Linked DNA regions of Homo sapiens: region 1 is linked to region 2. The links are contacts of gene promoters, found by promoter capture Hi-C in blood cells and fetal thymus (Javierre and others, 2016). All regions are on one chromosome and are shown on one strand. The core of a region is centred on a gene start or on the middle of the fragment in contact, and the rest is flanking DNA. Distances in the headings are between cores, read along the strand shown. Region 1 overlaps NHSL3 (NHS like 3). Region 2 holds the start of ZBTB8B (zinc finger and BTB domain containing 8B).

The links. Contacts are between HindIII fragments. The CHiCAGO score rates a contact against its expected background, and 5 or more counts as called.
Region 1: a fragment that was not itself captured here is called in contact with the fragment with the promoter of ZBTB8B in region 2 in 1 of 17 cell types (M1 macrophages); the score reaches 5.2 in M1 macrophages.

Annotation. Positions count from the first base shown.
Region 1 is chr1:32,764,534-32,767,767 of GRCh38, reverse strand. The region is part of intron 1 of NHSL3 (NHS like 3); the gene reads right to left. Among named protein-coding and RNA genes, the nearest start is that of NHSL3, 24 kb to the right of the region's middle. RefSeq lists enhancers at 340-1,233, 1,234-2,126. The HindIII fragment of the contact is 3,729 bases long and covers 1-3,234 here.
Region 2 is chr1:32,463,484-32,466,664 of GRCh38, reverse strand. It overlaps ZBTB8B (zinc finger and BTB domain containing 8B), which reads right to left and starts at 1,593. Exons shown (of 4, transcript NM_001145720.2): 1 at 1,560-1,593. The HindIII fragment of the contact is 8,233 bases long and covers 1-3,181 here.

The sequences.
Region 1 (3,234 bases), core at 423-2,922, 300 kb before region 2:
AGGGAAATGAGGTAAAGGCATCTGGGCCCTGCAGGGGCACAGGTCTCACGGCAAGGGCAGTCATGGTCCCCAGACTGCACACGGCCATTGCATATACAAGCAATGCCCCCTTCCCCAGTCTGGACACATAACCCACAGTTCTGGAGTAAACACTCAACACACACAGCCCCCATATACACAAACTACACCCAAGTGTACATAAATCTGAGTACCCACACCACACAAAGGGCCCCATATAAGGCCCCACACACAGGGCACACAGGTACACAGGTCTACTGTGTACGTACACAGCACTCACAGATGTCATTCATGTATATAAACAAAGGGCATCCGAGTATAAACACACATAGGTACACACACCAAGCACACCCAGCCCGCACGTAAACACACAACACCCACAGTCCCTGCTCTGTATATACACAAACAGTAACCAAGTATACACACGACTATGTACTCACACGTCACTCAGAGCCCCACAAAAAACATCCCGAGTATACACATAGCCCATAGTAAATACATTGCTCTCGCCTCCATACCCAAAACCCCACTTCACAGGAAAACAAACCACTCTTTTCATGCCACCACTTGAACCAGGTCCAGGAAGAAGATATCACGGGAAATCAGGAAGGAGAGACAGCTGGCATGAGTTACAACCATATTCCCAGAAAATCCTAGGGGGGATGCAGACCAAGGAGATAGCCTCCTGGGTCCCCTACTCACCCATGTGGCTGCCCCTTAGTGGAAGGATGGGCAGGGGAGGGGAGAAGAAAGACCCAGGCCCCTCCACCCGCCCAAGGGAGCTCCAGTCTCTCTTGGGGAAATAGTCCCAGGTATCCCCCTCTCCTGGAGGCCCTGGCCCTGGCCCTGGCCCCTGTTGCAGAGGAGCCAGGGATCCATTACAAAGGATCCTGTTACAAGCCCCGCCTGTGGAGGGGCTGGCCATCTAATCCTGGGGATGGGGGGCTGTGTCAGCACTTTGCAGCCCCAGCCCCCCCTTTAAATGAAACCCACAACATAAGCAAAAGCGCTGGAAGGGTCATGTGACCTTGGTAACACCTTATAAAGGGACGGGAACAAAACAAGCCCTTTAAAGGGCCATGCTCCAGGAGCAGGGTCTTCAGTTCAGAAACCTGCCTTTCCTCCTCCCTCAGCCCATTCGTCAACAGCCAGAGCTCCTGCCCTAGGGAGTCTGCAGGAATCCCACAGGTCAGAGCTAGGAGGCCCCCAACAGATCCAACCAGACCAGTGCCCGAGATCCCCAGATTTTACAAGTGGGGAAACGGTTCAAAGGGGCAAGGCCTTGCCTAAGGTCACCCAGCAGTAGGAGTCAGACTGACCCTGGACTCAACTCCAGGTTCCCAGAGGGGACTCCCGGATCACACTCAGAGTAGGGGCCCCCAACCCTCAAAAGTCCAATAAACTCTTGTCCCTATGTCTTAATCCAGGTCTGAAAGCCCAATTCCTAGGAGAAGGAAGGAGGAACAGGCCCCTCCCTCCAAAACTTCTCCATTCCCAGGCCTCTAAACAGGATTTCACTGAGCAGGCTTCCCAACTTCCAGTGGTACTACTCTCCTCTCTTCTGGGCCGCCCACGTCCCATCCTCCCCGGCACACTAGGAAAGGCTAGTACATCTTGACTGGGAGGCTGTACCCAGTAAAGTGTGGGTACCCCGGCAGGGAGGCAAGTCTCACGGGAGGGCTGCAGGCTTCAAGGTCAGAGACACCTGGATCCATCCTCCCAACCCACAAGCAGGGCCCAGACAAAGGCAGCAACAAAGCGGCTGGACAAAAGCACAGCCGGATGGGAGATTCTGGCCTCATTATCAGCCCCCAGCCCCACCCCATTACTTTTGCCCAGCCTTGATTCCTCATTCTACATAAGGGTCTGGGAAAGGGAGGCATCGAGCATCCCTCCCCTCCCCCCAAGCCACACCCACTCACCCTTCTTCTTAAACAGCCCTAGGAGCGCCGGGAGGCGGCGGCCAACGAACACCACCATGACTGCGGGCGCCACTCGAGACGTTCCCTATCCCACCCTGCCTCTCCAGAGCAGAGCGCGGGGCGTACCTTCACTGTAACCCAGCACTATGGGGATGCGAGCCCTCCCGCCCCGCCGCAGAGCACCGGCTCCAGACAGAGGAGGGGGAGGGGCTGCTCTCCATGTCCTCCTCCCACCTTCGCCACTGATCCCGCCCATCTGCCGACCCCACCCCTTAAATGGGGTGCAGGGGCACAGAAAGGCAACTGAGGCCAGGAGTCCGTGGGTGCTCTGCTCCAGTAGAGTATGATTAGGAGGACCGAAGATACTCAATCCAGCAGCAGATCACTCACCCTGCCTGCAAGTCCAGAGTTAAGGCAGGGGTCCCAGCTGCCAGATGGTAGGTGGAGGGGCTACCAGACTAGACTTGGCAGGGTGCCCACCTGCAAGCCTCCTGGCTGCCTAGCGTAATTCCCTGGGGAAAGAGCTCGGAGCCTGCAGCAGCCAGGCAGGAGCCCAGAGCTGCTAGTGGGATGGCAAGGCTGTGGGCAGAGGCCCCCAGAGGGGCAGGGGCCAGTCCCAGGACACAGTCCTGGGAAGCCAGGGAGATGCCCAGAGCAGAACCACAGTGGCTGGCAGTACAGCCCCTCATACATAGGTTCAGCCCCACACTTTCCAAAGGACTTTCTTCCTACTTTGGCAATGTGACATCAGAAGCCCAGAGAAACACAGTAAACTCTCCAAGATCACACTTAATCTTGCAGAGGCTAGACTTCAAAGCAGACCTCCTTCTCCCCTAGCCTGGAATTCTTCACATTGGCCCCACGCTGTCAGTGATTCTGTCCTGGATCACCAGGCAGGGAGAACAGAATTAGCCAAGAAACAGTCCATGGGTGAAGGCAGTAAAAAAGGAGGTGAGGTGGAGAAGTACTGGAAAAGAAGTCAGGTCGAGGTTCAAATCCAGCTCCATCACACAAGTCACGATCTCATATGAAAATAAGGCTAATAACTCCTCTTTTTAAGATTGCTGTGGCTCACGCCTGTAATCCCAGCATTTTGGGAGGCCAAGGTGGGCAGATCACTTGAGGTCAGGAATTCGAGATCAGCCTGGCCCAACATGGTGAAACCCTGTCTCTACTAAAATTAAAATTAAAAATTAGCTTGGTGTGGTGGTGCATGCCTGTAATCTCAGCTACTCGGGAGGCCGAGGCAGGAGAATCTCTTGAACCTGGGAGCCGAAGACTGCAGTGAGCCAAG
Region 2 (3,181 bases), core at 344-2,843:
TTTTTATTCTACTTCCTGACGTTGCAAAAGTCTATCCGTATAGTATTTTCTTCAAAATTTTCCCCAATCCTGTACTTGGTATATATTGTGTAAATATTTATTTATATCACCCCCATTTGCCTGAAGTGCTCTGCTGCCCCGGGAAGTGCTGAGGATCACCACTTATCCCAGAAGAGCAGCTCTTAGGGCAGACTGCTCTCAGAAGCACATTTATCCGCACTCTGGCAGGGAACCTCCCAACCATCCCACGGTTCCAACTCAATTCAACGGTTACCGGCTACATACAATGCCTGACACAAGGAAGATGCCAGGAATAGAAAAATGAACCAAGTATAGTGCCTGTCCTCCAGGAGACAGCAGATGCCAACACAACTACCTGCAATACAAACTCTCATATACCCTTGAGGGAGTCCTAGCCAGATCACACAACTGTCTCTGTTCAGAGGCCAAAAGCAGCCTTGAATTCCACCTCCGACCCTTTCTGACAAGACTCCTCCAGTCCCACCAACCTGAGAATAACAAAAACCTGCTCCTCAATTTTAGTAAATATTAAGCACTATTCCTTATAAAACACTGTACAAAGTACAAGCATATTCATTTTACTTTTTAAATTAAAATTTTTAAAAGGCACGGTCTTGCTCGGTTGCCCAGGTTGGAGTGCACGATCCTACCTCAATGCAGCCTGGAACTCCTGGGCTCAAGAGATCCTCCCAACCTTAGCTTCCCGAGTAGCAGGGACTACAGGTGCGCGCCACCATGCCTGGCTTTTACAAGCACATTAGTTTTCACCTCACAATAATCCAGTACGACAGATACTCTAACTACATCCTCTTTTTCAGAGGAGGAACTGAGATTCAAAGATGCAGATAACATCACCAAGTTAGTAATAGAACAGAGATCCGACTGACTCCCGGGTTGACATCCTTAACCACTATGCTAACCGGCCTCCTCAAACCCTCCAGGACACGATGCGACAGGTTGGGGAAGTCACTCCTTTCTTTTAGGCATGGATCGGAGGAGAAGGACACTGGAGAAGTTTCCATTTCCATACGAAGAATTTCAGGGTCAACTGCATCTAAACTGCTCGCAAGACAGACCCTCCCCCGTCCAGCATCAGACGACCTGCAGAGAGGCCACCAGAACCAGCTACAGGGCACGGCCCCCGAGGGTGGGACCCCAAGGCCTAGCCCCTCCCATGGCCTCCCGCGGACAAAGTGGCCATCGCTGCCGCTGGCACTTCTCCAGTGTGGCCGAGCCCCCCACGCCTGGGCACCATTCACCGTGGAAGTAGTCGGCGCCGCGACCCCCGGCTGGACGACGCGGAGGACACCCAATGACAGGGAAGCTGGGGCCCCACGGCCGCGCCTGCCCCTCCCCACGCTAGAAGGGCTCGCGGGGCGGAGGTCCCAGGAGTTGCCAGGGCCAAGCGGTCCGAAGGAGGATGACTGAGTGGGGGCAACCCTGCCCGCTAACCCCAATCTCCAGCCAGCCTCCCGGGTGCTAGGAATCCTCCCCAAACCAACGAAAGCGGCAGCGCCAACCCGCTTCTTCGCGCTCACCTTCCAGCGGGTTCCAGCAGCGCAGCCACGGAGCACCGCGCACCGACACGCCCCCCTTTCATTCACCTGGCGCCCTCCGATGAGAGGCGGGGCGGCTGGCCAATCGCGGGAGCGCCTGGCCTCGGGAAGGCGGGCCCTTCGGCCAGCAGGGTGGTCAATGGCGCTGGTGCCCCTCGGAGGATGCGCTCTGAAGGCGCTGGTGCTCGCAGGGTGATGGGAGTTGTGGTCTCAGCGCTGGCTTTTCGGGTAAAGATAGAGTGGACAAAACTACAAGTACCAAGATGCCAAAAGGGGCGAGGACCAGTGCTAGCGAAAGGCTGCAGCTCGGTTCGGTCTTTTGAGTCCCACTTGAGGGACCTGCCAAGTACCGGTCTCTTTGTCTGGAGAGCGAAAAGCACGTCGTGGGTATTAATGCAGTCCAGGGAATAAGAGCTTTGACTCATCAGTCCGCACATATTTCACCTACTGGCGCTTTCCGCAAAAATCTGGAAATAAGGGAAATGGTTTAATCGATTCAACAGGTTTTTATTGCATACCCGCGGTTTCTTTCACTGGGTAGTCGTTACAAAAGATAAAAGATTCAGCTCTTCCCTTGACAGGCTCTCCGGTTCATACATACTAGTGAAACGGTTAAATGGCAGTACTAGGTGCTAAGTGACCGTACAGGCGTGTTCTTGTCAGCTGTGAGCAAGACAAGGCAGCTTACCGCTCTCAGGGAGCTTAGTTCTCATGGGGGTGTATTCGTTTGCTAGGGCTGCTGTACCTAAGTATCACCAACCCGGTGGCGTCAATAACAGATCTTATTGTCTGACAATCCTGGGGGCATCTGAAAGCAAGATGTTGGCAGGGTTCTTTCCTTCTGAGCGCTGTGAGGAAACGGTCTCTTCCAGGCTTCTCTCCTGGGCTTGCATATGGCCATCTTCATGTTCACAGGGCATATTCCCTGTATATGTCTCCATGTCAAAATGTCTCCTTTTGGTTGCAGTGAGTCGAGATCGCGCCACTGCACTCCAGCCTGGGGCGACAGAGAGAGACTCCGTCTCCAAAAAAAAAGTATTTTTATAAGGATACCAGTCATATTGGATTAGGGGTTCACTCTATGCCAGTATGACTTTTTTTTTTTTTTTTTTTTTTTTTTTGAGACGGAGTCTCAGACTCTGTTGCCCAGGCTGGAGTGGTGGCGGGTGGATCACCTGAGGTCAGGAGTCCGAGACCAGCCTGGCCAACATGGTGAAACCCCATCTCTACTAAAAATACAAAAATTAGCCGGGCGTGGGCCAGTAATCCCAGCTACTTGGGAGGCTGAGGCAGGAGAATGCTTGAACCAAAGAGATTGCAGTGAGTGGAGATCTGGCCACTGCACTCCAGCCTGGGCAGCAGAGCAAGACTCTGTCTCAAAAAAAAAAAAAAAAAAAAAAAAGGCTACCCCCTTCGCTGAGAGACCCTAATGAGGAGTAGTGAGCCATGCTAAGATAAAACAGAAAACCGGTTGGTACATATCTAAGAAACAGGAGAATGCCATTGGGTTGAGGAAGTGGATGGCAGGTAGACCAGCTTAATGGACGTGCAACCCACGCAGTGGCACAGGCCCGCACACTCAGAAAGGGCTGGTGCTTCCAGGT